3 separate regions of the Homo sapiens genome follow, and all the other regions are linked to region 2. Evidence: promoter capture Hi-C in 16 types of primary human blood cells and fetal thymus (Javierre and others, 2016). All regions are on one chromosome and are shown on one strand. Each heading gives the region's core, a stretch centred on a gene start or on the middle of the fragment in contact. The rest is flanking DNA. Distances are from core to core; before and after follow the strand shown. Region 1 overlaps KANSL3 (KAT8 regulatory NSL complex subunit 3). Region 2 holds the start of FAM178B (family with sequence similarity 178 member B). Region 3 has its middle 40 kb from the start of ARID5A.

The links. The method cuts DNA at HindIII sites, captures the fragments that hold promoters and counts their contacts. A CHiCAGO score of 5 or more calls a contact.
Region 1: a contact is called between a fragment that was not itself captured here and the fragment with the promoter of FAM178B in region 2, in 1 of 17 cell types (naive CD8 T cells). The highest score is 5.2, in naive CD8 T cells.
Region 3: a fragment that was not itself captured here is called in contact with the fragment with the promoter of FAM178B in region 2 in 1 of 17 cell types (erythroblasts); the score reaches 5.3 in erythroblasts.

What each region holds. Positions count from the first base shown.
Region 1 is chr2:96,610,027-96,612,726 of GRCh38, forward strand. KANSL3 (KAT8 regulatory NSL complex subunit 3) reads right to left here. Exons shown (of 21, transcript NM_001115016.3): 8 at 2,436-2,537; 9 at 2,256-2,327; 10 at 1,038-1,112; 11 at 700-857. Among named protein-coding and RNA genes, the nearest start is that of KANSL3, 27 kb to the right of the region's middle. The HindIII fragment of the contact is 9,937 bases long and covers 1-2,700 here.
Region 2 is chr2:96,985,262-96,987,961 of GRCh38, forward strand. It overlaps FAM178B (family with sequence similarity 178 member B), which reads right to left and starts at 1,319. Exons shown (of 17, transcript NM_001122646.3): 1 at 980-1,319. The coding sequence starts at 1,052. RefSeq lists enhancers at 356-876, 877-1,397. The HindIII fragment of the contact is 31,542 bases long and covers 1-2,700 here.
Region 3 is chr2:96,575,304-96,578,003 of GRCh38, forward strand. No RefSeq gene overlaps it. Among named protein-coding and RNA genes, the nearest start is that of ARID5A, 40 kb to the left of the region's middle. The HindIII fragment of the contact is 2,624 bases long and covers 75-2,698 here.

The DNA of each region.
Region 1 (2,700 bases), core at 43-2,542, 380 kb before region 2:
AGGAGACTGAGGAGACATGGCAACTAAATCCAAGTGTGATCCTGGGCTGGATGCTGGACCAGAAAAATGACATTAGGGAAACAACTGATGAAACATGAGTCTGTAAATTACAGTATCATGTAGATGTTAATTTCTTGATTTTGAGAATTACACTTTGGCTATGTAAGATGTTTAACATTTAGAAAATCAGGTGAAGGGTATATAGGAATTGTTTTGTACTAGTGTTATAACTTTTTATAAATCTGAAATTTCAAATATTAAAAAAGGTTTTTTTAATGCTGTCTTTTTTTAATTTTTTTTTTTTTTTGAGACAGAGTCTTGCTCTGTCACCCAGGCTGGAGTGCAGTGGCGGGATCTCGGCTCACTGCAAGCTCCGCCTTCTGGGTTCACACCATTCTCCTGCCTCAGCCTCCCGAGTAGCTGGGACTACAGGCGCCCGACACCAGGCCTGGCTAATTTTTTGTATTTTTAGTAGAGACGGGGTTTCACCGTGTTAGCCAGGATGGTCTCAATCTCCTGACCTCGTGATCCGCCTGCCTCAGCCTCCCAAAGTCCTGGGATTACAGGCGTGAGCCACCGCGCCCGGCTAATGCTGTCTTTTAACTGAACCAGACTGGTCTGTAGTTACATTGCCAGCTTCCAGGCTTATCTCTAACACTGTAACACAGCTCTCTTGCAGCTCTGGGAGAATCCACCCACCTGAGATTGTCATCAGCTCCCCCAACCACCACCAAGCTGTTCTCAGCTCGAATCTTCTCCCGGAAGTCCTCCATGGCTTCAGGGTGACATTGAAGGGAATTCTGACCAATGACAAAGAGGACTGGAGTCTTCATATCCAAGAGGGGATCATCTACATCCTAAAACAGGTATAGGTTTTAGAATCGGCTTCTTCATATTCACAAAGCACTGACCCAGAAACTCCACTAAGGAGGATCAGCCATGCAACTGCAGTCAGCCTCAGCATCAGCTTGGACAAGGCATGCACACTCGCGCTCCCACTGCCAATGACCCAGCACTCAGCTTTACCACATTCTTACCCCTCTGGGGCCATCCACAGTAAGCAGAGGAAACCCAAGGCAGACAACTGCAGTGACATACTCCATTACTGACACCTGTAAATAACAGAACAGTTTGTCTAAACGTCAACTGAGTTCATGGCACCTCAGCCTACCCAGAATCCAGGAGTGGTCCAGACCCACCAGACAGTCTCACCTCTTCCTCTCCTGTCCTAATATCCGGGTGCATCTTCTGCCACAATGGCAGCAGTAAGAGCACAAGACACAAGGTATGTCATTCCATAAGCAGCCACTACCTAGAGAACTGGGGCCCTAAGAGGACCCCAGCAGGTGGCTGAACCATAGGATAGAAGGTTCAGTATTCCTACCCTGTCAACCCCCTCAACTAGAGCCCTCCTGCTCCATTTTTCTCCACAAATAGTAAATATAGTCAAGAGAACACAATGTTGCCATTAACCCTTAAGTGAAAAAAAATTCTCTCTATTGAACTTAATGGATAGCTACCAGACAGCCTAGATTTCTTGGAGCAAACTGCTAAGGCCTAACACCCTGGGAGCAGGGACTATGGGGACCTTCTTCCTCTCATAGCTATCACACTTGATTGGACTGCATGAAGCAAAATTAAGGGTTTGGACATGAGGGACACTTACACAAACTGACAGACATACAAATATATGTAAAATACGAAAAGATTCCTTGATGTCTTGGAAAAAGACTGAAATGAACACAGCATCAAATTCCAGAGCTATTAATATTTGCCAGCTACAATTACTGTTGTTTTTTAGGTGGGAGAACAGTATGGTACTTATGTTTAGAGAAAAAAAGGGATCTTTTTTTTTTTTCCACAGATATATACCCATATGTGTGTGTGTGTGTGTGTGTGTGTGTGTGTGTGTATGTGAAAATGCTATTATATTTGGGATTTTCTTCAAAACAATCTAGGGGAGAAAGAAAATGAGCAGGGTGAGATGAAACAAGCCCAGCCAAGAGTTGATCACTGGTAAAGCTGGGTGAGGATCCGGGGGTTTATTATACTACACCTGCTTTTGTTTCTGCTTAAAGTTTTCCAAAATAAATTAAAAATTGTTTTAATAAAATTTGTCTTCTACAGTTTAAAATGTAATTATATAGGTAAAGTATCTAGCGCAGAGCCTGACACACAGTAAAGGACTCAATGGTAGCTATGATTAGTGGTATTCCATCCCAGGACAACCTCCAAATAAGATAGAAATTACTTACATGACAGGCCACCAAAGCTCCTGTGTTCCAGCCAATCAAGATAATGGGTTTGTGTGGGAAATGGCTGTGAATCTTCATGGGAAGAGAAAGAAGACAGTAAGACAGGAGGCCAAAGATAGGTGCAGAACAACCCCAGAATGCTGGGTATGCCACAATGTACTGAAATACGGGCATTCTCACCTCCAGCACTTTGCTTCTCACTGCCCCAATCATATGCTCGAGACACTGTAGAACTCCTACCCCACTGCCATTGTTCAGCAGATGGGTGGCTACAGGGATGACCTGAAGGAAAGAAGTAGCCCCCACACCAGCAGAGGTAAGTTTCAAATCTTTCAATTCTGTTTAACCTAACCTAAACCCAAAACCTTGGAATTCCACATGAAAGAAGGATTAGAGGAGGCTCCACATGAAAGAAGGGTTAGAGGAGGCTCCACATTCAAGTTAC
Region 2 (2,700 bases), core at 69-2,568:
TCCTCCATCTCACATTCTTTCCAGGTTCAGGACTGAAGTCGTCTTGTTCAGCTCCTTGACTTGGCCATGCTCACTCTACAATGCAGCCCATGGATGGCGCCCCCTCTGCCCAGCACATCCCTCTGCCTGGGCTCTTGTCTCCCCGAATCCTGCAAACCCCAGCCCCAGCCTTTAGCGTTCAGCCGCCCTCCCCGCTTCCCTCATCCTCCCTCGCGTCCTCGCAGTGAGATTTCAACATGTCATCTCAGTTTTTTTGTTCTTTTACTTTCCTGACTACAAGAAAAATAAAATAATCTGTCTTAAAGTGTAGCATGAGGCCAAATAATTACGGAATCCCAAGTGCTTTGGGCCCTGATGTCAAAAGAGCCAAGATGAATTCAGAATATTACAATGGTGCTGTTTCTGCGAATACTGCTTTTTCAAGACGCCTTATTCCTAACATCATGTTTTATATCCATCCTTTTAAACAAATATTTAATAGCTTGGGAATGCTGGCGAGAGCAGCGGCTCCTGTCAGCAAGGACTGAGCTCACAATTTGAAAGATGAAAGGAGATGCGTTCTACCCACAAAGAAAACGGTCTCCAGCATCATAAACTCCACATCCATCAAACCGGGCAGGGGCTGGGAATAGAAAGCCTTTCTGGAAAGAAAACACCAGCTACCCTTTGCACCCTGGGGAACATTAAAAATCAAAACAAAACATGCCACATCAACCAAAACATAAACCAGTTCTCAAACCAATCTAAGGTTCCACCCCACCAAGGCCGGCCGCGCAGTGGCCTGTGGAGAGGAGGGCCCGGCTCACGTCGGAACCCGAACCACGCGGGGTCGCAGGAACCTGAAAAGCGCCAGAGTAGCCCGGCGGCCGCACCGGGGCTGACCTGCAAGGCCTGGACCAGCCAGGAGTCCCAGGGAAGTCGAGTGCTCTCTGAGCGCTAACCACGCGCCCCTGCGGTTCCTCGGCCTCAGTTTCCTTACCTGTAAAATGGAGCCGCTGATCCTGCCTCCTGAGTTGTGGAGCGAGGCCCGCACCTGGAAGCCTTGGCCACATAGGGCGGGAAGGGCAGGGCTCCGGGGTGAGGGAGGGTGGCGGGAATTCGCACGGCCTCAGAGGACGGGGCCAGCTAGCCGGGAAAGGAAGCAGGAGCAGGCTCCCCAGGCGGCGCAGTGGGAGGACCCCAAGAGTTGCGTCCCTAGATCCAGGGCCGCCAACGTGGAACCTAAAGATCCAGTTCTGGGGATTGAGTTCCGACTCCAAACCAAGCGGCCAGCTCACAGCCGCCGCCGCCGCCAGCTGGGGAGCTCGCCGGCCAAGTGCGCACCCTCTTCCTGTTAGCCCTCCACGTGCGCGCCCTCTTCCTGCTCGCCCTCCACGTGCGCATCCACGTGCGCGGGAATTGGCTGGCGGAAGCTCCTGCCCCCAGGCAGTCCTGGGTCACGCGCACTTGTAGTAGCTTGCATTTACCAAGACAGTGAGACAGTGGCCTGGCGCGGTGTCTCATGCCTATAATCCCAGCACTTTGGGAGGCTGAGACGGGACGATTGCTTGAGCCCAGGAGTGAGAGACCTGCCTGGGCGACATGGCGAAACCCCGTCTCTACTAAAAATACAAAAATTAGCCTGGCGTGGGCAGGGCGCGGTGGCTCACGCCTGTAATCCCAGCACTTTGGGAGGCCGAGGCGGGCGAATTGCCTGAGGTCAGGAGTTCCAGACCAGTCTGGCCAACATGGTGAAGCCCTGTCTCTACTAAAAATTAAAAAACATTAACCGGGCTTGGTGGCTGGCGTGCGCCTGTAATCCCAGTTGCGCGGGAGGCTGAGGCAGGGGAATTGCTTGAACCAGGGAGGTGGAGGTTGCAATGAGCCGAGATCGCGCCACCGCACTCCAGCCTGGGCAGCAGAGCAAGACGCCGTCTCAAAAAAAAAAAAAAAAAAAAAAAAAAAAAAAAAAAAAAAAAAAAAAAAAAGCCGGGCATAGTGGTGCAGTGCCTGTAGCCCCAACTACTTCAGAGGCTGAGGTGAGAGGATCACTTGAGCCTGGGAGGCGTAGGCAGAGGTTGCAGTGAGCCGAGATCGTGGCACTGTACTCCAGCCTGGCGAAAGAGCAAGCCCCCATCTCTAACACACACACACACACACACACACGTGTGAGATAGCTGTGTCTGTTTGGCAGTGATGAGCTTCCCTTTATGGGAGATTTACATAATTATTCATAAAGGAGCGGGAATGGGCATTACTGTTAAGCATGTTACGGGGTCTCCCAGATGTGCATGTGCGTGCTAGTACACCACATCACATGTCTCATTAGCATTTTAATTCCTCACCCAGGGGTGTGTTTTTTAGCATTAAAATGAGCATAGGTCATTCCAAGGACACTCTAATCATGGGTTTCTGCACTTGTGTGAATTTGGGGATTTTCCCTTCTGCTGTTCATCCTCTTCGCTGCAGGATGTTCTAACTAGGAGCCTGATGCAGTTTATGCACCAGTGGGCGGTTTGTTCTCTACATCAATCTGGCAAGTTCATTCCCCTTTAAAGGAGGCTATGACCACTGTATCTAACCGACCTCATTTTCCCCCTCAGAGACTTTGGGTCCATGTTCTTATGAAATGTGGAGGGCTGGGTCATTTTTTCTGGAGCTGCTTCGTGCTGAGACAGGACCAGGGCCCGAAAGTCTCTTCTTGCCTGATTTAAAGTGATA
Region 3 (2,700 bases), core at 137-2,636, 410 kb before region 2:
ATATCTTGGAGGCATGCACGTAAACAGAGGGTGGGAGATAAACCCCATGAAAATTCAAAGGCTTATGATCTCAAAGCTTCCAGAGATCTAGTGTGACGAGCTTGTTAAGATTGCCTCTCCAAGGCAAAAGACAAGTTGCTGTACTTTGCATCACCTACAACTAAAAAATAAAGAAAATCCTTGGTGGATCCTTCTTGGCATTTGGAGGCAATGCATACCAAACTTGAGTGTGTTATTTCAACCCATTTACTGAGTAATCAATTTTGAGCAGAGACTAAAGCAATCTCTTGCTCTGCATCAAGCCCAGGCTGAAGAACAAGCCTTATGACCCCACAGATCCAATGCTAGTAAAAGTGCCTGTGACAAACAGGCTGGTCTGTGGAGCCTGTGACAAGCATTAATAGGACAATCACAGTACAGAACTCTGGAGTGTGGAGGCAAATCCATGCCCTCTTCTCCAAGTAACTAATATCTGTTTGAAAAAGATTCTGCTTTTCTACTGGCCCTTAGTAAAGAATAAACACTGAACCATGAGATATCAAGTAACCTTGTGACCTGAGCTTTCCATCATGAATTTATAGTTATTGACACACCTAGCCACAGATTAGACCTGTGCAGCAAAAATAGAAAAGGCTGGACTCAAGCAGGTCCAGAGGACAGAAGTAAGTCAGACTCCTTCGACACTGACTCTGGCTGCATTGCCTCCTCCCCCTCAATCCTCATCTATGCCTGCTGGGAGTTCCTTATGACTAGGTAGCTGAGAAGGAAATAATCTGGGCTTGATTTGCAGGCAGTTCTCTATATGTTGGAACCAACAGAAAGTGGATGGCAATATTACAATCTCACTTGGGTGTCTCTGAAGGACAGTGATAAACAGAAGACTTCCTATTCAGCAGAACTTGGAGCTGTTTGGTTATCCACTTTGTTTGAACTGAGAGATGACCAGAAGTACAGATCTGCTGACTAAAGGAAGATTTCTAATTAATGACTGGATGGTTATGGAGGGACAAGGGTTGGAACATTGGTGATGAGATCTGGGGAAATTATATAGATAAACTTCTCAAACTGGGCACAAAGGGGAACAGATATTTGGGTCCCAAATATCTGATGTGGATACTCACTGGAAGGCATGCATTACAGAGGCTTGCAACAATGGGCTTGTGGTTCATGAAACTCATTGGTCTTACCAGAGATCCCATCGTGAAGAGGTCAGTCTGAACAGTGGGATGGCCTACTAGATAATTACCTAGGGCACCAGATGGGAGTCAACACCCTGAAAGAATAGGGTTTTATCTTATAGGATGCAATATATCCTTCAAATCAAAGACCTATTCATAGTGCTGTCTCTTCATGGGCCCAGGAAGCAAGAACAGAAAAGAAAGCAGGTCTTCCCACTAGCACACATAATGACCAGTCACTTCTCATCTCCACAATTTTGAGCTCTGCTTGCTTGGAAGGTCTTGGTTCCCAAGGGAGGACTATTTCCACCAGGGACCCAACAATGGCTCCATCAAACTGGAAGCTGAGACTGCCTCCATTTAGACATTTTTGGGTGCCTCATGACATTAAATCAAAAAAGAGCAGTGACTTTGCGGGCTGAAGTGACTGACCCCAATTATCAAGGGAAAATTGGGGTTATTACCACACGATCGTGGCAGAGGACTAGGTCTGGAACCCAGGGGATTTTCTGGGGCTCCAATGAACACTTCTAGCAAAAGTTAGTGCTGGCTTCTCCCCCTGCCACATGCACGAATATTTTCCCTTTTGGCTGTGCATTATTTAGTGGCTTTAGGACTAAACTGCTTAGGAAGAGAGGGAAAAAGACAAACCTACAGATTTGAAATTATTGTCCCTTGTTCCAGTTTTCCCTCTCCTTTGCATCTTTTGCTGCTCACCCTTCCCTGTTCTAACTCTCCACTTTTTTTCCATAGGGACCATCTGGTCTAGAATGACTGCTGACCTAATCTGGAATCAATCTCATTTGGTGCTGGGCATGATCCACATAAGAAGAGTCCCACTCCCCACTGCCTTGGTCTGCTTCTCCACTCTCGGAGAGGGCTCACCATGAGAAGCCCTGGCTTAGATCCTCCAGGACAGGTGCTCTCTAGGGAAGTCTGAACACATGGACCAAGAACCAAGTGGTCAAGCCTGGTTTCCACCTTCCTCAGTAATCACTTTAAGCCTGACAAGTTATGGGAAAATGGGATGCCCAGCATTGCCAGAGCCTACGACACCCATGTAGGAGCCATCTACCCATCCAATTAGCCAGACTGTCAATTCAACATGACATACAATTCTTCCTCAAAACCAGATTTGGTACAGATACTCCCTCTTCCTTGCCTGTTACCACCCATATTTGGCACCTCCCACGTGGTCTCTGGGCACTGTGAGCAAGCACAGTGTGTGCTTTTACAGGCCATTTAGATAAGAGGTTTGCAACCAATCAACCCTTTACCTATCATGGATAGGCCATGAGCTACTATTCAGTTTCCGAGCACAGCAGGCTTACCCACCACAACCCTGAGAGCCAAGTCATTGCGATTAGAGATTGCTTGAGAGTGGGCTTTGCAGTGGACTGCCAGAATTCGGCTATGGTTCTGCCACTTACCAGCTGTGTGATTTGGGCAAGTTACTTAACCTCTCTGTGCCTCAGTTTTTCCCTGAACTATAGAATACCAGTAATGATGGCCTAGGATAAAG